Regions from separate parts of the Homo sapiens genome. Here all the other regions are linked to region 3. The links are contacts of gene promoters, found by promoter capture Hi-C in human tissues and cell types (Jung and others, 2019). All regions are on one chromosome and are shown on one strand. Each heading gives the region's core, a stretch centred on a gene start or on the middle of the fragment in contact. The rest is flanking DNA. Distances are from core to core; before and after follow the strand shown. Region 1 overlaps FAM193A (family with sequence similarity 193 member A). Region 2 overlaps FAM193A (family with sequence similarity 193 member A). Region 3 holds the start of MXD4 (MAX dimerization protein 4). Region 4 holds the start of FAM193A (family with sequence similarity 193 member A).

Region 1 (5,935 bases), core at 462-2,961, 370 kb before region 3:
AAGTATAAAGGGGCCTAAGTCCAAAACTGTTGAGAATTACTGCCCTGAGACACCGAGTTTATCTTAAGCTGGTGCTGCATAGATCACTGGATGGCAGTGTAATAATGTGGCTATGAATTTGTGAAGATTTTTGGGTCCTGATTGGAATAACCCAACCATAAAAAGAGATTGGCTGGCATTAGTCGGTAAGAAATTACTATTACCGTCAGTCTTCATGGATGTGACAATGGAACTGTGGCTACAGAAGATAATGGATGACTATTTTTAGAGACACTTATTGGAATATTCTAAGACAAAAAGCACATTGTCTGGGACCCATACTAAAATACTGCATCAAAAAGAGGGAAGAGAAAGTGGAAGAAAAAGAAGGCATAATGAAGTCAGAGTGGCAAAATGCTGATTAACTGCGCATCTGGGTAAGGAGTACATAGATTCATTGTAGTCTCTACCCAGAATCCAGAATTACACATTATAACATCTCACAGACCATTTTCAACAAAGTCCTGTGTTTTGTGTTTGAGATCACTTTTTCTTTGATGTTCTGTAGCTGTCATTATACTATAACCAGAGAAGGATTTTTCAACATCTTACTTGGGAAATCTGATACGTTTCCTTGCTGAACACTAGTATTTTTCAGTAATTCTGAGAATTTCTCAGCTATCATCTCTAAAAAAAGTTTTTGTTTCTAGTTTTGATATTTTTTCAAATCTGAATTATCATTCTTTAGAGTATTAATCCTTAACTCCCAATTTCAAACTTTTACAAAGCTTCTTTAAGCACAGTTAACAAAGTTACTCTATATTCTTTTTTGAAAATTTAAATATCTTTGTTATGTGATTCTGTCTACTGCTTCTGCTGGCTTTTAACTGTGCTGTCATGAACCTTGTGTTTTATGACTTTTTTTACTGTGAGCTGCTCATTTGGGGGGATTTTATCTATTCGAATTCTCTGAGGTCAGATTGAAGGTTTCCAGAGGTGATCTGCATGCTGCCTGACTTTACCAGCAATCCTGGACCACTGTAAAGTAACTTCCAGGCTTGGGCTGTTCATACCACACCAACATTTATTCACACTCCAGCTCATGTGGCAGCTGGCTGACAGCTACCAAGTCTCTGGGAAGCTGTACTCCCTGCATCTCCACCCCAAGGCCACGAGAGCTGCAGATCCCTGCTGTCCCTTTCGGTGCTCGGAGTTTCCACTTCAACCTTACTAGTGTCGTCACTTACAGTCCCAGCATTATGTGCAGACCCCATCCTGGGCTAGGTTGTCTCTTGTCTCCCAGGATCAGAAGAAATACCCACAGCAAATGCTGACTTTCAAGCCCATGTATTTCTCAGGATTCCAGCTTTCAATTGGTTTTTCACCACTACGACTTACTCCCTTTCATGCCATCTCAGCCATACACTTTAAAAGATTTCATCTTTTTTTTGAGACGGAGTTTTGCTCTTGTTGCCCAGGCTGGAGTGCAGCGGCCCCATCTCGGCTCACTGCAACCTCCACCTCCCAGGTTCAAGCAATTCTCCTGCCTCAGCCTCCCAAGTAGCTGGGATTATAGGCGCGTGCCACCACGCCAGGCTAATTTTTTGCATTTTTAGTAGAGACGGGGTTTCATCACGTTGGCCAGGCTGGTCTCTAACTCCTGACCTCAGGTGATCCAACCACCTCGGCCTCCCAAAGTGCTGGGATTATAGCCGTAAGCCACCACGCCTGGCTTATTTTTTTATTATCTAGTAAATTCAGTTGTTTCCCTTGGAGGAAGGAATAGTTAAGGGTATCTAGTCTGCTGGACCCCTAGAAATCAATGTGGGTATTTCTATGTGTAAAGGAAGTGAAAAAAGACACTAATCAAACAGCTTCTGGGTGTATGCATTTTTTTCAAGCCACAAGAAATTATTTCTTTTTTATTTTGTTTTGTTTTGTGTGTGAGACAGAGTCTCGCTCTGTTGCCCAGACTGGAGTGCACTGGCACAATCTTGGCTCAATGCAACCTCTGCCTCCCGGGTTCAAGTGATTCTCCTGCCTCAGCCTCCCGAGTAGCTGGGACTACAGGCGCCCGCCACCATGCCCGGCTAATTTTTGTTATTTTTAGTAGAGACGGGGTTTCATCATATTGGCCAGGCTGGTCTTGAACTCCTGACCTCAGGTGATCTGCCTGCCTCGGCCTCCCAAAGTGCTGGAATTACAGGCGTGAGCCACCGCACCCGGCCTCAAGCCACAAGAAATTATTTCTATGTCAACTGCTAGGAATTTGCTCTAATAAATATGGTTCAAATTAATTTTTGTCAGCTTCATAAAACAGTATCCTACAGTAACTATCTGAGGAGGTGCAGACCTCGCCAGCATTTTCTGGAGAGCAGCAACAGCTGCTGTCTTCACTACCAGAGTCTCTCTGGGCACCAGGTTTAGGTGGGCTGGAGAGCATCCTTCTTAACCTGAGCCAGTGTTCTTGTAGAAGACAGAGGAGGGGCTCTGGATTTGAACCTCTGAAGGGCAGGCAGACTCTCAGGTAGAGACGGGGAGGCTGTGCTGCGAGAGATGCCAGAGGAAGGACGAGGTACCAGAAGGAAGCCTGGTGGCACTACCCAGTGGACTCAGACCTTGAAACAGGATAACTGCCCCCCTGCCCCACCCCCACCCCTCACCCTACCCATTCACCTCGCTACCTCTTCTCAGAATAGATACCTCCCCATGGCTTGGCGCAGTGAAGCTTGAGGAAGTCTGTGAACCCCCTGAAATGACTTACAATTACATGTATGTAATTTTTTCTTTTCTTTTTGAGATAGGATCTCACTCTATTCCCAAGCTGGAGTACACTGGCTCACCACAGCCTCAACCCTGAGCTCAAATGATCCTCTTGCCTCACAGCCTCTTGAGTAGCATGCGTCATCACGCCTGGTTAATTTAATTTTAAATTTTTTTGGTATAGGTGGGGTCTCCCCATGTTGCCTAGGCTAGTCTCAAGCTCCTGGGCTCAAGTGATCCTCCCACTTTGGCTTCCCAAAGTGCGAGGATTACAGGTATGAGCCACCACACCCGGGCTGTATGTAAATTTTTCTAAGAGGGTCCATCAACTTGAGAATCAGATAAAGACCAAGGCCAATGCTTACTGTATTTGTTTCAAAATGTAGGTTTACCACTAAGAAAGCACCCAAAACTGATGCTCAGCCCTCTCGCCATGTGATGCCCTGTACCACCTTTGGACTCTGTTCAGAGTCCAAGTCCCCACCTGCAAGAAAGCTCTCACCAGATGTGGCCCCTCAAACTTAGACTTCTCAGCCTTCCTAACCATGAGAAATAAATTCCTTTTCTTTATTAAAAGAAAGAAAGCACCCAAAACTAGCACCCAAATACAGTTAAGTATTATTTAATAATAAAGTTTAAGTGATGAAAAACTCCATAGACTATTAGTAACAGTCAAGGAAGCTTTGAGGGCTTGTCTCTGGTCTCCTTCCAAAGCGTGGGGGCACTGAGGCTGTTGAGGATTGACCGCAGCCTACTTGTAACCATATTTCTATACCATGCTCCTTCCACCCAATGTAGTGATTCCTCTTTTGAGGCAACCGGACCCATCTGTGTGTCTCTTTTGTTAGGACTGTCAGATCCCCATTGGCAAGGATGGTGATAGGGCCTGTCTTGAGACTGCAAGCAGATCCTTAACTCAGTGCTGGCTTGCTGAGTGCATGCATGCCTGCATGAATGAATGAACGCCACTGGGCGGTAAACAAGCTGTTCTCTACAGCCTTCATGCTCTTCATGGGCATTTCACCTAATACCAGCTCTGTCTACAGCAACGAAAGAATGAACAACCTAAGTAAGACACCGGAGATTTCTCTGTCTCCTTATAAAGGCACACATCAGTGCTCCCCTCACACTGCCCCCATGCCTCGTTCCCTGGGCCTCAAGGTCCTCCAAACAGTACTACCATGAGGTGTCACCTGCTTATCAATCCACCCAATGCTTTTATCCAGTGGCAAAGTCCAGAGGAAAGACAAAGAGGAGAGGAAACAGGTCCTCTCCCGTAGAGAAGAGGGGCCTATCACAGTGTGTGGGGGTGTGACAGCGAGGTCGGCACACATGCGTGAGAAGCTTCCTCTTGCCACATGCTTCTCTTCAGCTCATCCAAACAGAAAGAAAAACACGTTTTCTCTCTTACCAGAGTGCCAAGGAAGGTGCTGATGGAGCGTGCGGCCTGGCAGAGGGCGCCGTACTCCTCAAGCAGGAGGGAGATGAACTGGTGCGCTTGCGGCGGGCCCTGCAGGCCAGATGGTGCCTTCACCTTGGCCGCAGCCGACAGCTGCCGGAGCAGGCGGACCTTCATCTCCAGCACATACTCTCGAGCTTGCTGTTCCAGACGCTGGTACAGCTGGTAGGGGTCCCTCTCGCAGAGCCTGCACAGAGAAGAGGGTCACCAGGGCCTGCCCACCAGGGCCCATGGGTGCTCTGATGTCAGTGAGCATCTTTTCTGAAGCCCTTCCACAGGTGGCCACCTCTAGATGACCACACAGTCACCTTCCTCATAACCACCTGTGAGAAGCACAATCACCCCACCTAATGGATGGGGAATCCGGGGCACAGAGTGTCACTAGGGAACAGCAAGTGACATTTATTGAGCTTTCTCTGTACAGCACTGTCCGTGCACGTGCACTAATTCAGTTCGCTGTGTGTGGGTTCAGTGCCTGCTTTACAGAGGGGACATTTTGGCCCACACAGGTTGGGTGACTTGCGTAAACTCACACAGCTGGAAGAGCACGCTACCACTTCTCAGCAGCTGGCCCCAGACAACATGCTCAGACACGAGGCTGGGGACAACTCTTTTAAAGGCTTATATGTTAACAAGTAAAAAGCACTGATCCCAGGAGAGGTGCCACCTGGCTGCAGATCTGCGGCAGCCTGCTCTTTCCTTCTTTCTAGAAGTTCAGTGTACAATCCAAATGGGTTTGTATTAGGCTTATCAAAAGAGGAAACTTTAGACACAGTTTATCTTTTTTTTTTAACAATTATCCCACCAAAAAAGCAATAAAGGTGTGTAAAATAAAATTTGTAGGCTGAAGAGTAGGAAAAAAAAAATACATGCAACATGACTAAGCCACAAATGCAATGAGCATTTTCATGAATTTCAGGCCAAACTTTGGGATAATCCATTATTTTTGACACAAATGTGTATGATAATCCACATTTTTTTTTTTTTTTTGAGATGGAGTCTCACTCTGTCGCCCAGGCTGGAGTGCAATGGTGTGATCTCGGCTCACTGCAAGCTCCACCTCCTGGGTTCACACAGTTCTCCTGCCTCAGCCTCCCGAATAGCTGGGACTACAGGTGCCCGCCACCACGCCCGGCTAATTTTTTGTATTTTTAGTAGAGACGGGGTTTCACCATGTTAGCCAGGATGGTCCCGATCTCCTGACCTTGTGATCCGCCCGCCTTGGCCTCTCAAAGTACTGGGACTTACAGGCGTGAGCCACCGCACCCGGCCGATAATGCACATTTTAAAACGTATTCTACAGTACTGGCATTGCTATGGTTAAATTTAATTGTATTTTAATCCAGGAGCCTCTAGATGGAAACCTAAAACCACTGATGTAATAATAAAAATTCGTCCATAACCCATCACCAGGAGAAACCAGTTTGAGTTCATCACTCTAACAGAAATGAGTTGTAAAATGTATTAAACTACAGCTCCTGGATTTTACATAGTAAATCCTTTCACCTACATACCATATTATGTCAAAAGAAAAGAAAGTTGTCACCTGTTCTATTTTTAAATTGCCATATTACCTAGGCTATAAAAGACAAGTGCCAAGTAAAATCTTGCAATGGAACATGTGAAGCCTTATGGAAAATGTGGATTAAAAAAATAGTGTAGATGGATGGGATTCCTATTATGGTTAGTATATTTCAGACAGACATTAATTTTTTGAGCATGACAACTGTCATT
Region 2 (6,312 bases), core at 3,479-5,978, 320 kb before region 3:
CAAGTTTCATATCCCTGCTCTGTCATGGGACAGCACAAATATCTACAAAATACTTCAAGTCTCTACATTCAGGCTCCATACAGCAAAAGGGCAAAACAGCTTGAATTTATTAATAGCAGCAGACTTACATGTATTTCTAACATACCGTTCTTTGCCAATCTTTAAAGTAAAGTTAATCTACTAAGGTCAAATAAAAAGTTGGTATCAAAGGCCTACTAACTTCTCACACTGCAGTTTGTAACCCTTCAATCTCTGAAGGTCCTGAAAAATCACAGTAACCAGTCATTTTGCATAAGGTATTAACAGTCTTTACAGCAATACCCAGAAATGACCAGAGAGAAAAATAAAACTACTTAAATAGAACAGAGGCTGAAAGTGGCTTTTATTCAGAGACAACACATGGAATAGGTAGGTAGCATCTCAAAATTAAGTGACCTGAAGCAAATCCAAAGTAGCCATTTGCACACCCGACAAGCCCCAAGTCACCCACACCTCTGCTGATGGGGAGGTCCCCATCATCAGACCCTCATCCATCACCATCACCTGTGCTCCCCTGGCAGCAGGGAGGCATCTGACCCAAGGACAGCCAAACCAGAGGCTAGCCAGTGACCTAAAACAGTGGGGCCCACAGGCAATACTTGCTTTTTTATAGAATCCTCTCCTTCCCATAATACAATGTTGATAAAGCTAAGTCACCAGGCTGATGACTAAAAATGTTATGGTCCATGTAAGTCAAAAGATGAGGAGACGACTTAAGGTAAAGAGGCACCAGAACTTTCACGGCAGGACACAGGGAAAGGGCCAAGGTCCCTGAGCCTAATGATGGAAGTTGAGAGGAAGGGGAGCAGTGGAGTAGATGTGGGGATCTCGAGCTCCGTCAATGCGGAGCAGGGTGCCCAGGAGGGAAGAACAGGGACATGGACTCTGTGCTGAGGAGTATAAAGGAAGATGGGTATTCACAGACTGCTGAGGGTGGTGTGAGCACCAGCAATCTTTTGGAAAAGCACTTGGCAGTAGTTTTCACAGCTCCCACACATCCGCAGACCTGCGCCTGTGCCCTCCTCTCCAATGTCCTCCAACTAGCTCTTCACAACCAGACCCCACCCTGTCGCCACTTGAGGACCACTGATTCTGTCCTCTTCTCATATCATCACTTTCTCTTTCTTTCCTGCATCACTTCCATTAGGATGCAAATATGCTGTCTCCCACTCTGAAGAAACACAACGATCTCCTCTCAGTAGCACTTCTGCCCCAGCTTCTCTCACTGCCTATCTTTTCCTTCCTTTTCAGTGAATTCCTTCAGAGTTGTCCACCCCAGCTCTTTCTTTTCAAAATTTTTTTCTTTTTCTTTTATTTACATATTTTGAGACAGGGTCACTCTGTTGCCTAGGCTGGACTGCAGTAGCACGATCTTGGCTCGCTGCAACCTCCACCACCCGGGCTATCAAGTGATCCTCCTGCCTCAGTCTGCCAAGTAGCTGGAACTACAGGCATGCACCACCATGCCCAACTAATTTTTGTATTTTTAGCAGAGACGAGGTTTTGCTAGGTCGCCAGGCTAGTCTCGAACTTCTGGGCTCAAGCGATCCTTTCACCTCAGACTCCTGAGCAGCTGAGACCACAGGCACGTGCCACCACACCCAGTGCTGGAGGTGGGCCTAATGGGAAGTGCATGGGTCATGAGGGCAGGTCCCTCATGAATGGCTTGGTGCTGTCTTTCCAGCACTGAGTGAGTTCTCATTCCATTAGTTCCCTGAGAGCTAGCTGTTAAAAACAGCCTGGCACCTCCTTTCCCATCTCTCTTGCTTTTTCTCTCATCATGTCATCTGGACACACTGGGTCCTCTTCACCTTGTGCCGTAAGTGGAAAAAACCTGAGGCTCTCACCAGATGCAAATGCTGTGCACCATGCTTCTTACACAGCTTGCAGAACCAGGAGCAAAATTATCCAGCCTCAGGTATTCCTTATAGCAACACAAACGGACTAAGATACAGAAGTTTAATTTCACATAAAGCACATAAAATTATAAAGGGCCAAGAATAACCAAAACATTCATGAAGAACAATACAGAACGCCTATTAAGGCTTATTAAAAAGCTATACTAGGCTGAGCATGGCAGCTGACTCCTGTAATCCCAGCACTTTGGGAGGCTTGGGTGAAAGGGTTGCTTGAGCCCAGGAGTTCAAGACCGCCTGAGCAACAGAGGGAGACCCCGTCTCTACAAAAAATTTAAAAATAAGCCAGGCATAGTGGCATGCACCTGTAGTCCCAGCCACTCAGGAGGCTGAGGTGGGAAGATTGCTTGAGCCCAGGAGGTTGAGGCTACAATGAGCCATCCTCCTGCCACTGCATTCCAGCCTGGGCAACAGAGCAAGACCCTGTTCTCAACAACAACAAATGCTATAATAATTCAGAGAGTGTGGTACTGGCCGCTCAAGGATAGAAAAGTAGACGAAGGAATATAGAATCAAGGTATGATACACGGACACTAAATTTATAACCAAGGTATGAAACACATACACTAAATTTATAACCAAGATGGCATTCTACAATACTATGGAAAGAATGGCCTTTTAAATTGAAGTTAATACAGAACAACTAGATACCCAAACCGGGGGGAAAAAAAAACTGGGCCCCTATCTCACACCATACACAAAAATCAATTCTTTAATTATAGACCTAAATGTGAAAGATGATGGATAATATCCTCATGACCTTGGGTAAAGGGAAACATTTTCAAGACACCAAAAGCACTAAAGCATAAAGGAAAAGATCAACAGATTCAACTATATATATATATATTTTTTTTTTTGAGACGGAGTTTTTGCTCTTGTTGCCCAGGCTGGAGTGCAATGGCATCATCTCAGGTCACTGCAACCTCTCCCTCCTGGGTTCAAGTGATTCTCCTGCCTCAGATTCCCCAGTAGCTAGGATTACTGGCATGCACCACCACGCCTGGCTAATTTTGTCTTTTTAGTAGAGATGGGGTTTCTCTATGTTGATCAGGCTTGTCATGAACTCCCAACCTCAAGTGATCCACCAGCTTCGGCCTCCCAAAGTGCTGAGATTACAGGCATGAGCCACCCCACCCAGCCCAGATTCAACTATTTAAAAATTATTTATTTTTTGAGATGCAGTCTCACTCTGCCACCCAGGCTGGTGTGCAGTAGCACAATCTTGGCTCACTGCAACCTCCACCTCCCAGGTTCAAGCAATTATCCCTGCCTCAGCCTCCCAAGCAGCTAGGACTACAGGTGCCCGCCACCACACCCAGCTAATTTCTGTATTTTTTAGTAAAGACGGGGTTTTGCCATGTTGGCCAGGCTCGTCTTGAACGCCTGACCTCAGGTGATCCGCCCACTTTGGCCTCCCCAAAGGGCTAGGATTACAGGCATGAACCACCATGCCCAGCCTAAAATTTAAAACTTCTATTTGATAAACATTAAGAAAATGAAAAAAATGACAAAAAAAAGTGAAAAATGAGAAAAATAGGAAAAAGATATACAACTTGACTGAAAAAATTGGGCAAAAGACTTGAACGGGTTCTTCACAACAGATGACCCAAATGGTCCATAGACATAAACATATGTCACAGATATCACAGATAAATTAAATCATAGTACCACCATTTACCCACCAGAGAGGCTGAAACAAAAAATTAGGACAAAACCCACGCTCAGCCAAAAACATGAAACAATGGGAACTCTCAAGCACTGCTGGTAGAGTGAAAATAGGTATAACCACTTTGGGAAATAGGCATTACATGAAGACTGTGAAAATACATGTAGACTATGACCCAGTAATTCCTTTTCTGGATATCTATCTTTCCTCATATTAAGTCCTGTATGCACCAAAATACATGTACAAGAGTATTCATGCCAGTCCCAAACTGGAAATAACCCATAAACTGTAGAATGAATGAACAGTCATCTATATGGTGAAATACTATACAGGAATTAAAATGGATAAACCATAGCTAAGTTCAAAACAAATAAATCTTTCAAATATTGTTGGGTGAGACAAGTTATATACCGTATTCAGTATGGATGCTTCCATTTATATAAGGTACAAAAACAGGCAAAACTATAGTGTTGGGATGTTTAGTTTTGGTTTGTTTTTTTTTTCCTTTTTTTGAGACAGAGTCTTGCTCTGTCGCCAGGCTGGAGTGCAGTGGCACGGTCTCGGCTCACTGCAACCTCCGTCACCTGGGTTGAAGCAATTCTCCTGCCTCAGCCTCCTGAGTAGCTGGGACTACAGGCACACACCACCACGCCCAGCTAATTTTTGTATTTTTAGTAAAGATGGGGTTTCACTATGTTGGCCAGGATGGTCTCGATTTCTTGACCTCATGATCTGCCCACCTCGGCCTCCCAAAGTGCTGGGATTACAGGCTTGAGCCACCGCACCCTGCCATTTAGTATGTTTAACGAAAGGAAAAGAAAGGAAACTGTAATCGAGTAGTAGCCTTTAGCAGGCTTTTGGAGTCCTGGTAATGTTCTATTTCCTTATCTGAATGGTGCTTATACCAGGGGTCAAATTAATTTGCAAACCTGTACATTACTTTTATGCATTTTTATAGTATTTAACAGTAAGAAATATTCTTTAGAGATGGGTGTTTTTTTTTTTTTTTTGAGACGGAATCTCACTCTGTCGCCCAGGCTGGAGTGCAGTGGCACAATCTTCACTCACTGCAACCTCTGCCTCCCAGGTTCAAGCGATTCTCCTGCTTAGCCTCCTGAGTAGCTGGGATTACAGGTGCGAGCCACCAAGCACCGCTAATTTTTTTAAGAAATGTTGTTTAAAGAACATTGTTAAAGGACAAATGAACAAGGTGATTCCATAGGGAGAGATCTCTCAATAAATGGTACACAACTGGATATGAATATGGAGTGGGGGACACCTCCAACTTCACCTCACACCATACCCAAAATTAAGTTGAAATAGATCACAGACCTATATATAACAGCTAAAATTATAAAACCTCTAGAAGAAAACAAAGAAGAAGGTTTTCCCAACCTTGGAGTAGACAAAGATCTCTTGAGACCCCAAAAGCACTAATCATTAAAAAAATTGGTAAACTGGACTTACACCAAAAAACTTCTGTTCCTCAAGACATGGCTGCTTCTGTCTTCTGCCCTAGGATGAAGAGACCTGGGACAGCATAATGCTCAACCTTACAGTGCAAAACAGCCAGACTAACTTCATATCCATGACTGTTTCTGAACCTGCTGGAGAGCTGTGGTTACAGAACAAACACTGGCCCATAATCTTAAGTGCCTTCAGGGAAAGAAAACAAATACACTCACCTGGGGTAGACACAATCAGACACACTAGTAAGAAGAGTTCAGCAAGAATAAAAGACAAATTGCGAAAGGCTGAGTACAGGCTGTCAGGACAATTTCTGGCAACTGCAGAAACTGGGAAAGCCTGCATTACTTTGCAGGCTCTTTCTCCGTGGCACTCATGAGGCAATCACTGAAAAGATCTGAAAGAGCCCGAAGAAGCAAAGACAGTAGCGCAGAACTCAGGGAGGGGACCAGAAGCCAGGAAGGAGGGGAAAGAAATTCCACTCAAATCCTTCCTCTCAATCTCCACTCAGAAACAAAAGTCCTAATTTGGGGGCAGCAGGGGGAAGGGAAGAGAGGGACAGGAGAGACCTAGTCCTGCAAAAGGGGCAGGATTACACACTGAGTCCAAAATTATAGCCAGGGAAAAGGCAGAAGAACTGAGACAGCTGCACCTCTGAAATCCAGGGTTACCAGACATGTCTAAAACTGAGACTTGGCCGGGCGCAGTGGCTCACGCCTATGATCCCAGCACTTTGGAAGGCCGAGGCAGGCAAATCACCTGAGGTCAGGAGTTTGGCACCAGCTTGGCCAATGTGGTCAAAGACAGACAGGGTTCTGTCTCTACTGAAAATACAATAATTGGCTGGGCATGGTGGCAGGTGCCTGCAGCTACTTTGGAGGCTGAGGCAGGAGAATCGCTTGAACCCGGGAGGTGGAGGTTGCAGTGAGCTGAGATCGTGCCACTGCACTCCAGCCTGGGAGACAAGAGCAAAACTCCGTCTCAAAAAATAACAACAACAAAAAACTGAGCCTTAACCAGAAAAGGAGGCAGCATCTCACTACCGCTACACACTTCCAAGTCAAAAAGCTTCAAACAACAGCCAACAGCAGAATACAACTGGGAGAAGAATATGCAAAGAAACCTCCTGTGAAATACAACAAAGAAAGAAGACTTAAGACAGAATTTCAAACACTGCCATGGTAAAACACTCCTCATCCTAGATCCAAGCCGCCTCTACAAACA
Region 3 (5,960 bases), core at 2,943-5,442:
CTCTTGCTGATTTGGAGCTGATGTTCACATTCCTGGCACTTCCTGGGCACCCCTTAGTGCCCAGCCCACTGCTGTGCAGGGCTTTGCATGCATCCTTCATGACACACCCCAACCACCCAAGAGGCAAGTACTGTCACCCCCGATTTTACAGCCCAGGAAACAGGCCCAGGGAAGCTGACAGGACTAGAATCCAGGGTGGCTTCAAGGAGAGGCACCATAGGGACTCCCCCTGGTGCCGGGACACAACCAGGCCTCTTGGTGCAGGGGAGCCAAGGCCTCGGGGGACTGGGTGCGTGCTGAGCTGGTCACAGCTCTCCAGCCCTGACCCGGGCCACCCCACTGACCTAGAACCTGCCACCCCTCAGGGCTGTGGAGATGGGGACTGTGCTGCAGGATTCTGACGGAGTGGAGGCAGGGCAGCCTCCCGCCCTGAATGCTGGTGCAGGGGACCTGGGGGCTGCTGGCAGCCCACCCAGTGACAGGAGGCCCAAGGTGGGAGGGGCAGGGTGTCAGTGGCCAAGTTTGGGGATCAGGGCCTGGTCAGCCTGGAAGTGTGGGAAAGAGGCTCTGCAGCTGCCGGGGCCTCACCAACCTTCCCTCCCTGGGTGTGTGAGGGGTGCTCCCTGAGGCTCTGCCGAGACTCAGATACCCCGAGAAGTCATGTGTGTGTGGTGGCCATGAGGAGTTTGTGGATCCTGAGTCCAGTGAAAGGAAGTTGGGGCCCAGTGGGCGCAGGAAGGCCAGGAAGCTGTCTTCTGGAGGTCTCTTTGGGGCTGGCCTTAGATACTCTCACAGATCCTGCGGGTGGGGAGTCAGCCCAGTAGCCTTTCCCAAGCCAAACCAGGAATCCTTTATTCCTATTCCGTCCTCCATATGTCCCAAGAGGCAGCACTGCCAGCCCCGTTCACAGCCAGGGAAGCTGAGGCTGTGGCAGATGGGGCAAGATAACTCAGGAAATCCAGGCAGCGGAAGACAAGCCTGCCGTGGCCTTCCACCCAAAACCGGGGAAGCCCTTCTGCATGCAGGCCCTGTCCCTTCCCTGGGAGCCCCTGCCTGGGGTGGGCTGGGGAGGGCCGTCGTGAGGGAAAGGAGACAGAGGGCGAACAACCCAAGGAGAATGTAAGGCTGGGTGGGGCTCAGAGGATGGGGCAGGAATGAGATGCACCCTGGGGGTCCCAGAGTGGCATAGAGAGGTCCTCCCAGAGTAGGGTGGGGGGACTGGGCTCCCCAGGGAAGGAGGCTGGAGATGTCTGCCCCCTCCCTCCTAGCTTTCATTGGTGCCCATTGGACAGGTCCTGGCTCTGGGGAAGGGCAGGGCAGGGCTGGGCAGGAGCTTGTGCCCATGGAAAGCTCCCTGGAGATGCCACACCCTGCGGGGGACCTGCCCTACAGAAGGGGACATGGCCCATGCCCTGCAGGGCTTGGGTCCAACTGGCTGACCTGAGCCACGTCCTCCCCACTCCTCAACCACCCCTGAGACTCCATGGGCACTGGTGCCTGCCGGCACTGACCCAAGATGCCTCTGCCCATCTTGGGAAGGACAAGTTGAGACCCGTGGGTGTAGAGACCCTGCCAACTGCAGGTGGGACCAGTGCCCCTATCCCCCAGGGGCTCCAGACCTCTCCTGGCAGGGCTCCAGGCCCACCTGCAGCCATCTGGGCCAGGCCAACATCACCTCCAGGCCTCTCCTGGCTGCTCCCTCCCCTTCCCTCTCCTCCTGCCATTGCTGGCCGATGCCTCCAGTACCTCCCTCCCTAGCTGCAGCTCAGCCCTCAGTCATCCATCGCCTCCTGCAGCTTCTCCTCCCAACCCCAACTCCTTCCTGCTCCCCCAGGCAGTGGTGCCCACACTACCAGGCAAGGTTTGAGCCCAGGGACACCAGGGAAGTGCTTGGTCCTCAGTGTGGTGGGGAGGTGAGGGTGAGTCCTTAAATGGCCTAAATTGAGGCTAAAAATCTCTTAGACTGGGGTAGCATGCAGGTGCCTCCCCATAGACACACCTGCGCACCTGTGCTGCCCACTGCCACACAGAACAAATCTCTTGGCCCATGGCAGGAAGGGGGCGTGCACTATGCCCAGCAGGTGCACTTGTACTAGGCCAGGTGTCCGCTTTAGCTGTCGGCAGCAACTCACCCAGTGGCCAAAGCAGGGATGGGGCAACTTTGCAAAATGCTCATCCCCAAGTGGAGAGCTGGGTCCCCAGAGCCCAAACACACCCTGCTCCTCCCCAGACTTGGGCACCTTTCTTTACCATGCACAGCTCTGAGCAGCCATGCAGACAAACCTGGAGGGCCTCAGTGCTGAGTTCTTGTGAGGGGCTCTGCCTTGGGCCCTGGCGTCACTGTGGGGCGGGAACAGGAAGGGCCCCTGCTAACATCAAGGGGGTTGTCTCAATGTCCATGCAGGGCTGTCTCATAGCAGTGTCCGAGTTCCCCACTGGGTCCTGCAGGGCTCTGTGGGAACACACATTATTCTGAAGCCCACACCACAGGCTTACACCCAGCAGGACCAGCCAGGCCAGGAGGCTCTGGCCTCTGCATTCCTATAGCCCTGAGCCGTGTGTGGCAGCACTAATCTCCATTCTGCTGAGATTTCTGGGAGACCCCAGCAAATCCCTGAGCGTCTAGTCCCATGTCCTGATCTGCAAGCCGGGCATGCAAAACACAGGGAGATGCACACGAAGCTTTCACAGGAGTCCTGGTGCTGAGGTTTTGCATTTTTTGTTCAGTTTCATTGCCAGCAGCAGCCCCTGTGTCCCACTGAGTACTTCTGGAGGGGTCCAGCCACCTTATGCCTCCACACTCTCCAGCCTGCGGGGCCTGGCCCTTGGCACATCCAGGCCACCAACCTCAAAAATCAAATCAGTGAGATGGGTCGGGCGAGGTGGCTCACACCTGTAATCCCAGAACTTTGGGAGGCCGAGGCGGGCGGATCACGAGGTCAGGAGATCCAGACCATCCATGGTGAAACCCCATCTCTACTAAAAATACAAAAATTAGCTGGGCGTGGTGGCACGCGCCTGTAGTCCCAGCTACTTGGGAGGCTGAGGCAGGGGAATCGCTTGAACCCGGGAGGCGGAGGTTGCAGTGAACTGACATCACGCCACTGCATTCCAGCCTGGGCAACAGAGCCGTCTCAAAAAAAAAAAAAAAAAAAATCTGCGAGAGGGTGGGGGGTGCCGAGGCCAGTCTGGGCCAGCCTTAGGGTCAGGGGTCACTAGGGAGACCCGCCAGCTGGGATTTGATGAAGGGTTCACTCCCGTCCCCACTTAGGGCGTCCTCGGCCAGAGGTGGCCAGCGCCTGCCTCTAGGAACGTCCCTGCCCCTCAGGCCAGACACAGAGCATGCAGCCCCCCACTCCGGGGAGCCTCTCGACTCTGGCCGCACGTCTGTGTCCCTTCCCCAGACCTGGGCCCTCCCTCAGCTCCGGCGTCCACTGGGCGATCTGAGGAGCCCGCCCGCTCTGGGCCTGTTTCCCCACTGACACCCTCAGAGACGCCTGGCTCTTAGGATCAGAGCGTCTGCGTCCCTCTCCGAGGTCCCGGCCCTTCCCGGGGCCACTCTGCGCCCGGCGGGGAGGGGAGTCGTTCACGGCCCCACGCAAGACCCCCGGGCAGAGCGCGAGGCCTCGTCCCCCCACGCAGCCACTGCTTTCGTCGCGCTCAGACCCGGCGGCCCGGCCCGGCCCGGCGCACGCCCCGGAGCGCCCTGCTTCGCTCTCGTAGCGGAGACGCTCCTGCGTCCTAACGGGCCCCCAGGACGGCGGGCGGTCCCCGCGCGCTGCGCTTCCTCTCGGCAACGCGTCCGGCTGCGGCGCCCTCATTGGCCGCGCGCCCCGCCACCGGCCATTGGCTCGCAGTGCCTGTTTTACATAGGCCGCTCTGGCCAATCGGCGCGCGGCGCCTACTTAACATGCACGGCGGCCGCCAGTCAGCTAGCGCGGGGGCCGGGCCACCACGTGCTGTTGCTAAGCTCGGGCTTCTAAATTGTTACTAGCGCGGCCGGCCTATCCCAGCCCAGCTCTGCATCTGTCAACATTCTCGGCCCGGCCCGAGGCGCTCGACCCGTCCCCATTGGCCCCAGCCCGGCCCGGCGCCCGCCCCCGGGGCGCGAACGCCGCCTCCCATTGGCTCTGCGGGCCGCCGCTCTCCCTTATGTGTCAATTTGAGGGCCTGAGGCGGAGGGTGGCGGCCGAGCGCCGGAGTCCGCGGAGTCTGGAAGTGCGGCGGCCGGGCGCGCGGGGTGGGCGGCGAGCGGAGCCGGCCGGAGCGGGCCGGGCAGCGGCCGCCGCCGTCCCGGGGCGGACGGGCGCGGGCGGGAGGATGGAGCTGAACTCCCTGCTGATCCTGCTGGAGGCGGCCGAGTACCTGGAGCGCAGGGATCGAGGTAGCGCTCGCACCCCATTGTGCGCCCGCGGCGGTGGGCGGGCGGCGGGGCCGTGCCGGGCGGGGGCCGCTGACCGCGCCGTGTGTCCGCAGAGGCCGAGCACGGCTACGCCTCGGTGCTGCCCTTCGACGGCGACTTCGCCAGGGAGAAAACAAAGGCGGCCGGCCTGGTGCGCAAGGCCCCGAACAACAGGTACCGCCCCCCGCTCCCGACCCCGCCCGGCCCGGTCCGAACCCCCGCCCCCGCCCGGAGCGTGCTCTCCGGGCCCCGATTCCCGGCCCGCGGCCCTCAGCGCCGCCGCCGCGCGCCCCGGCGGCCAGCCTGGAGGAGGAGGCGCGCAGGCCGCGGCCGCAGCCCCGCCCGGCCGGCCCCGCCCTCGCCGTCGCCATCTTCCCGCGGCCGCGCCTCCCGGGCCGCTCGCGTAAACAGTGCCACGCGTACAGCGCCCGCCGCCGGGGTCCGCTCCCGCGCCCGCTCCCCGCCCCCGAGTTGTTCTGGACTTTTCCAGGCGGTAGAAAAGTTGTCAGCGGGCGCTGGCCGGTGCCCCGTGGGTCTGGGGAAACAGGCTCAGCCAGGGTCTGCGGGGGCTGCCGGCCCTAACCCCTTCTCTCCGCGGGTGGGTGGGCGGCCTCCTTTCGACTGGCTCTGCCAGCCGAACTCTGCTGCTCGGCCACCTTCCCCCGCCCCCAGGAGCCTAGACAGAGAAGCGAGTGGAGGCGCTGTCCTGGGCCCTCACTCCTCCCAGGGTGCCCACCGCTTCTGCCCAGCCTCCTGACACAGCGAAACTCCAGCCACCAGTATGGGGGTCCTCTTTTTTAAGACAGAGGCCTTTTAAGGGGGCGGGAGGAGGGGGCAGGCTGCAGGGCAGGGGCCCCATGAAGTCGTTACTACGGGTGCCAGCTGCGCCCTCCATACCTTGACCTCGTGTTCAGGCAGCAGAAGCCCTGAAGCTGGGGTGCGTACAGGTCCCCCGCGTGGGGAGTGGGGACCCTGGGCCGGGGCTCCCCGGGGATTTCCACCCTCCTGGCTGCTGTGAGGACCATAGCACACCTGGTCCTGTCTGGGCCCACCTTGGCCCAGCCCTTTTGTGTGAGCAGGCTGGGAGCTGCGTTTGTAGGGGGCTTCAGAGCCCCAGGGCATGGCTCATTCCTGTGGTCCACCTGTTCTAGGGAATCCGAAAGGCTGGTGTAGGGACCCATTTCTGTGGCATCCTGAGCCAGGCGAGGAATTGGTTGAGTCTCCAGCTGCCCTGGCTGGGACCCGTCCCTGAGTCCCAGCCCCTGGTCCCCTACTGGGGACAGTTTGGGGAAGGACAGGAGTGTGACGAGGGAACCATTGCCTCAGGCCTCCTCAGTGAGCAAGCCCGGCCCCCGCTGCCGCTTCTCTCCAAACCAAGTCCCTGACCCGTGGAGAACTCTGGGGCGTGAGCTGGGGCTCCCCCAGCATGGAGAATCCAAAGCTGACAACCAGCGTCCTGGCCAAGGCTGCCCGAACACTGCCTCTATGCTGAGCGTTTCACACATGCAGCCAGTTCATCTTCACCCCAGGCTCAGAGAGGTGATGTGATTTTTATCTC
Region 4 (6,066 bases), core at 758-3,257, 280 kb before region 3:
GGGTTTCACTGTGTTAGCCAGGATGGTCTCGATCTCCTGACCTCGTGATCCGCCTGCCTCGGCCTCCCACAGTGCTGGGATTACAGGCGTGAGCCACTGCGCCCGGCCATTTTTTGTATTTTTAGCAGAGATGAGGTCTCACCGTGTCAACAAGGATGGGATTTTTTTTTTTTTTTTGAGACAGAGTTTCACTCTTGTTGCCCAGGCAGTAGTGCAATGGTTAGATCTCAGCTCACTGCAACCTACATCTCCCAGGTTCAAGCAATTCTCCTGCCTCAGTCTCCCGAGTAGCTGGGATTACAAGTGCATACCACCACACCTGGCTAATTTTTGTATTTTTAGTAGAGACGGGGTTTCACCATCTCTGGGGTTTCATCATCTGTCAACCAGGCTGGTTTCGAACTCCTGACCTCAGGTGATCCACCCACCTCGGCCTCCCGAAGTGCTGGAATTACAGGCATGAGCCACGGTGCCCGGCCCTAAAATGTTTTGTGAAATTTTTGTGTTTATGTGTATGTTTCCTAGATCTTAACGGATTTTATTTCTTGGAGTGGGTCATAAGAGTGGGTCATGGTCAAAAACCTTGATAGGCCAGGTGCAGTGGCTCAGGCCTGTAATCCCAGCACTTTGGGAGGCAGAGATGGGAGGATCACTTGAGGTCAAGAGTTCAAGACAAGCCTGGGTAACATAGTGAGACCCTGTATCTATATTAAAAGAACAAATTAGCCAGGCATGGTGGCACATACCTAGAGGCCTAGCTACATGGAAGGACTGCTTAGCCCAGAAATTGGAGGTTACAGTGAGCTATGACCAGGCAACTGTACTCTAGCCTATGCAACAGAGAGAGACCGTGTCTCTTTTAAAACAACAAAACCCTGATGCATACTAGTTTAACAGAATATCACAGTCCTGTCAAAAATAATACTCAGGTGGGCACAGTGGCAAGGGTCTGTGCCCTTAGTAATTAGTAAAACTAAGATGAGAGGGATCCCTTGAGCCCACAAGCTCAAGGCCAGCCTAGGCAACATAGCAAGACCCTATCTTAATAATAATAGGCATACAGTTATCTGATTTTGAATAACGCGACAAAAATAATAAAGGCAGGGCTGGGCACGGTGGCTCACGCCTGTAATTCCAGGACTTTGAGAGGCCAAAGCAGGTGGATCAGGAGGTCAGGACTTCAAGACCAGCCTGCCCAACATAGTGAATCCCTGTCTCTACTAAAAATACAAAAAAAATTAGCCAGGCATGGTGGCAGGTACCTGTAGTCCCAGCTACTTGAGAGGGTTAGGCAGGAGAATCGCTTGAACCCGGGAGACAGAGGTTACGGTGCGCCAAGATCGCACCACTGCACTCCAGCCTGGGCGACAGAGTGAGACTCTGTCTCAAAAAAAAATAAATAAAAATAATAAAGTTATATTTTACCTAAGTATTGCAAAGCAAATGTAAATTATTAAAACTTGAAATGGTATGAAAGGCTAAAACTAAGAATTTTATTGTGCCACCAACTGGTTTTTATTGAATCAATAGAAATGAATATATTCCACATCCAGCTACACCAAAAATTATCAATATTTTGTGTAAGGATATGCACAGGCAAACCCCCCCCGCCCTCCCCTACCCGACAGCAGCAAACACTGCCCTTAAAAACCCCAAAGATCCAAACGCTCAAGACTCATCCTTGATCCCAAGAACTGCGGCCTGTTTTGATCTCCAGGATACTGGATGAGGGCAATCTCGGGAGACTGAAGTCCAGGACTACAGCCCAAGACCCTAATGTAACAATATAATAATAATAAAAACGGCCGGGCGCGGTGGCTCACACCTGTAATCCCAGCACTTTGGGACGCCAAGGTGGGCGGATCACCTGAGATCACGAGTTCGAGACCAGCCTGGCCAACATGGTGAAACCCTGTCTCTACAAAAATTAGCCGGGCATGGTGGCGCATGCCTGTAGTCCCAGCTACTCGAGAGGCTGAGGCAGGAGAATCGCTTGAACCCGGGAGGCGGAGGTTACAGTGAGCCAAGATCGCGCCATTATTGCACTCCAGCCTGGGCGACAGAGCGAGACTCCGTTCTCAAAAGAAAAAAAAAAAAAGAACAATTTGTGTCATGATTTAGCACAAAAATACTCCCAACGCTTCTTTCATTTTTTAATTGCAATATCTTTAAAACTACATAATTTAAGAGTTTAAATAACATTATAAGAACGCAACTTTTCAAAAAAAATCTATTCTCTTTCAGCAGACAATGGGATAACTGGAAATGACTGCGCCAATTGCATACCCACTTATAAATAGTGTACCCTCTGAAATGTTGTGACCAACGGTTGAATAAAAGTGGCAGGAATCCATAATTGGTAGGTGCAATGTGTGCTAGCTGTCTTCATAAACAAAACTGAAAAAAATCACCTTTCAAATTCCTTAAGTTCGAACCCTAAATACATACCTGAGTAACCAAACCACTAAATACCCCTGAAAACTTAACAAAGCGGGGGAGGAGGGGCCAGGGCTGCCAGCTCCAGGTGGCTGTCAGGTAGATTTCAAATAACCACATAGGAGGACCAAAGGAAAACTTCCGGGAGGCCCTTCTCAATCATCACGCGCACGGAATAACGAAGGTGGCCAGAGAAACATTTCAAAGCCCTGGGAGCGAAAGGGCAGCTTTGCTCACTCCCGGAATCGCAGTCGCTCTGGAACCGCCGCAGCGGGCGAGGCGCCACGACAGAAGCCCGGGCCTCGCGGGTATCACCCGCCGGGTCCAGCGGAAGGCGAAGCGCCGTGCGCGGAGCTGCACCCCGGAGACGTCCCCGCCCGTTGAGGGGCTGCTCCAGCCTGCGGACCAGCCCGTCGCCGTGAGCGGCGGCCCCGGTGTAGCCCTCCCGCCGCCTCTGCTCAGGTTCTCCTCTCAAGAGGCTGACAGAGGCCGCGTCACGCCGAGCACGGCCCACCTGCCGCCCTGCCCCGGGACCTCGGCAAGCGCAGCGCCGCAGGACCCGTTATCCGCCCGCCCGCAGCATCCCGCTCCCAGGCCCGGGGCCGACAGCGGGAGGCCGAGCTCCGCCAAGGCGCGAGGGAACGGCAACCGCGTACCGCCATCGACCCCTGCCCGCTGCCGCCGCTTACCTCGAAGTAGCCTCCGGGGGCGGCGCCGCCCGCGCTCGCGCCCGCGCCGAGAGGCCCGTTGGCCGCCGCCGCGCCGCCCACCAGGCCTGCCGCGCTGCCCGGGGCCGCCAGGCCCGCGGCCTGGGAACCGCGCAGCGCCGCCGCCGGGCCGGCCTTGCCGCTGCTCGCGCCGCCGTTACCCCCGCCCGAGCCGCCGCCGCCGCCCCGCTTGTTCTTCCGGCGCTTGGCCCCGCGCTTGGCGTCGGCTGGGCTCATGGCGGGCGGGGAGAGGGGCGCAGAGCGGGCGCGGGGGCCGCGGGCGGCGGCGGAGGGCGGGGAAGGCGGGGAGGCTGAGGCGGCCGCGGCGGCGGGCGCTCCGGCCAGCCGGGGGGCGCTGCGCGGGGTCGCGTCCGGGTCGGGGAGGGCTGGGGCGGGCGGGAGCTGCGGGGCAGGCCGCTGGGCGGGAGGAACCGCGAGTCCACAGTCCCGGCGCCGCGGCTGACCAGAGTTAGAGTCCAATATGGCGGACACAAGGGGAAAGGGATCCCAGTTTACGTCGGGGGAGGGGGAAGGAGCAGCGGGGAGGGGGAGGGGTGTGGGCCCCCACCCCCCACCCCCACCCCGCCTTACTCCGCCCCCCGGCTCTGCTTTTCCCTTTGCTTGCCCACCCCCTCCTGCCGTTAACGTGCCTCGGCGCGCAGGACACGCCGGGAACTGAAGTCCGTGCTGCCCGTGCAGCAGCTGGGGGTACCCGGGGGTGGACCACGATTCCCGTCAGGCCTTGCGAGGCCGAGGGCCCGGGCGCTGGGAGGAGCTGGGGCCAGGGAGCTGGATGCGGCGGTGATGTCACCGCCTCGCTCGTCGCCGCAGGTCCCGCCCGCGCCGCGCGGCCTTCTGGGCGTTGTGGTCGGGCGTAGGGCTAGGCCGGCAGGAGGCCGCGCCGCCGCCCGCGAGGCAAACTACACGGCTGGCGGCAGGGAGTTCCGCCTCTCTGACCGGTGTCCGCTGCCCGCCCGCCCCGCCCGCCTCGCCCGCGCCCCTGTCCGCCGCCCAGGTGCCGCAGACCGGCGCGGCTCCCGGGATGCACCAGGGGCGGCGCGGCGCGGCCCTGGCCTCGCCAGGAACGCCCGGTGACCTTGGGCTAGTCTAGTTCTGGTCCAGATGACTCAGTGAGGACCACAGAATCCCTGCCTCGTGGGCTGGGCGGGGGTTCGGGCAGCGCTGGAAAGCCGGGCGCGGTGCGGTGGGGTCCGCCTGGGTGCGGAGGCAGCGGCGGAGCCGGCGAATCTTGGACCGGGCCTGGGGCTGGGACACGCCGGTCGGTTCCCCGAGAACCCCTCGCCTAAAGGGTGCTCTTCCCGAGCCCGCCCTCTCCCTGCTATCCCGTTAAGCCCTCTCCAGTGGTCCCGGTGCCTTGCTAATCCACGGGGCCCTAGGACGATCCGGCCGTGTCCCACACCCTCGCACTCACGCACCTCGGGGACGACTAGCCGGGTCAGACCCTCGCAGACGTCCAGATCAGAAATAAGGGCTTGCGTCTGGACCCTCCTCCCTCCGCGGCCTTGCAGACATCTGCGAGCCCCAGGCAGAGCTCTGCCCTGAGACCCGGGCCACGGGGGGACCCTGCCGGCGGCTCCGCCCCCTGGAGGGCCCCGCTTACCACAGACACAGAGGCACAAAGGACATGATTTCCCCTTTTTGGTTCCACCGGTGGTGTCAGGCCGAGAGGCGGCGGGCTTGGCATTGGGATGTACGGCCTGCCAGGCTCCCCTTGCAGCGTTAACCGAGCTCTACTGTTCGTCCTGGGTCCCCGCAACCCGCCCCAGCTGCAGCCACAGCCTCCTGATCCTCTGACCCATTCTTCATGACACAAGCAGAAATCTCATGTGATCAGAAGAAAGCTACCCTTAAAGCCATTCAGATACCATCCTAGACGAAAAAAGGCCCCCCGCCCCATCAGGGTCTTGGATGATCCTGCCACTGAACATGGATTTTGAGAGAGCGGGTAGGAATGCGTTTCTGGCCTCTTTTTCAGTGTCATAGGCTGTCCCTGCCCCTTGCCTCAACCCCTGTCCTTTCCTTTGTCATAGCACATTGCACAGGATTGGGATTCATGATGTCACCAGTATCCCCAAAGACAAAAGGTTTTATTGGGCAGGAGAGAACCTGAGAATGCCTGCCTCACACACCTCTGACACCCAAGCTACTGCAAAGCAAGAGGCTGAGCACCCAGCACTCTACTATTTGCTGAATCAATGAATGACAATAATGACCATTAGGCCTGGGTGCCTTGGCTCATGCCTGTAATCCCAGCAGTTTGGGAGGCCGAGGTGGGCGGATCACCTGAGGCCGGGAGTTCAAGACAGCCTGGCCAGCAAAGCGAAACCCCGTCTCTACTACAAATACAAAAATTAGCTGGGCATGGTGGCACACACTTGTAATCCCAGCTACTCGGGAGGCTGAGGCAGGAGAATCGCTTGAACCCGGGAGGCAAGGGTTGCAGTGAGCCGAAATAGTGCCATTGCACTCCAGCTTGGGCAACGAGCAAAACTCCGTCAAAAAAAAAAGAGGCCGGGCACAGTGTGGCTCTCGCCTGTAATCCCAGCACTTTGGGAGGCCGAGGTGGGGCGGGTCATGAGGTCAGGAGATTGAGACCATCCTGGCTAACACGGTGAAACCCCGTCTCTACTGAAAATACAAAAAATTAGCCGGGCCTGGTGGCGGATGCCTGTAGTCCCAGCTACTCAGGAGGCTGAGGCAGGAGAATGGCGTGAACCTGGGAGGCGGAGCTTTCGGTGAGCCCAGATCAAGCCACTGCACTCCAGCCTGGGCCACAGAGCGAGACTCCGTCTCAAAAACTCAAAACAAAACGAAAGAAAGAAAAGAATAAAAATAATGACAGGCCGGGCCTGGTGGCTCATGCCTGTAATCCTAGCACTTTGGGAGGCCGAGGTGGGCGAAT

Evidence for each region. The method cuts DNA at HindIII sites, captures the fragments that hold promoters and counts their contacts. A contact is called where the count stands out against the background at its distance.
Region 1: a contact is called between a fragment that was not itself captured here and the fragment with the promoter of MXD4 in region 3, in 4 of the 25 tissues and cell types used here (H1 embryonic stem cells, IMR-90 fibroblasts, dorsolateral prefrontal cortex and 1 more).
Region 2: a contact is called between a fragment that was not itself captured here and the fragment with the promoter of MXD4 in region 3, in 1 of the 25 tissues and cell types used here (dorsolateral prefrontal cortex).
Region 4: a fragment that was not itself captured here is called in contact with the fragment with the promoter of MXD4 in region 3 in 1 of the 25 tissues and cell types used here (dorsolateral prefrontal cortex).

What each region holds. Positions count from the first base shown.
Region 1 is chr4:2,629,388-2,635,322 of GRCh38, reverse strand. It overlaps FAM193A (family with sequence similarity 193 member A), which reads right to left. Exons shown (of 21, transcript NM_001366318.2): 5 at 4,154-4,388. Among named protein-coding and RNA genes, the nearest start is that of FAM193A, 96 kb to the right of the region's middle. RefSeq lists enhancers at 3,830-4,329, 4,330-4,831. The HindIII fragment of the contact is 4,088 bases long and covers 1-3,755 here.
Region 2 is chr4:2,582,745-2,589,056 of GRCh38, reverse strand. All of the region lies in intron 1 of FAM193A (family with sequence similarity 193 member A), which reads right to left. Among named protein-coding and RNA genes, the nearest start is that of FAM193A, 49 kb to the right of the region's middle. The HindIII fragment of the contact is 8,650 bases long and covers 404-6,312 here.
Region 3 is chr4:2,260,341-2,266,300 of GRCh38, reverse strand. MXD4 (MAX dimerization protein 4) reads left to right here and starts at 4,192. Exons shown (of 6, transcript NM_006454.3): 1 at 4,192-4,384; 2 at 4,477-4,576. The coding sequence starts at 4,321. RefSeq lists enhancers at 2,520-3,179, 3,180-3,841, 5,073-5,665 and silencers at 3,473-4,312, 4,363-4,422, 4,513-4,902, 4,913-4,972. The HindIII fragment of the contact is 28,165 bases long and covers 1-5,960 here.
Region 4 is chr4:2,534,230-2,540,295 of GRCh38, reverse strand. It overlaps FAM193A (family with sequence similarity 193 member A), which reads right to left and starts at 3,649. Exons shown (of 21, transcript NM_001366318.2): 1 at 3,126-3,649. The coding sequence starts at 3,380. RefSeq lists silencers at 2,646-2,695, 2,440-2,734, 2,736-2,895, 2,946-3,235, 3,316-3,415 and 3 more. The HindIII fragment of the contact is 7,680 bases long and covers 1-5,847 here.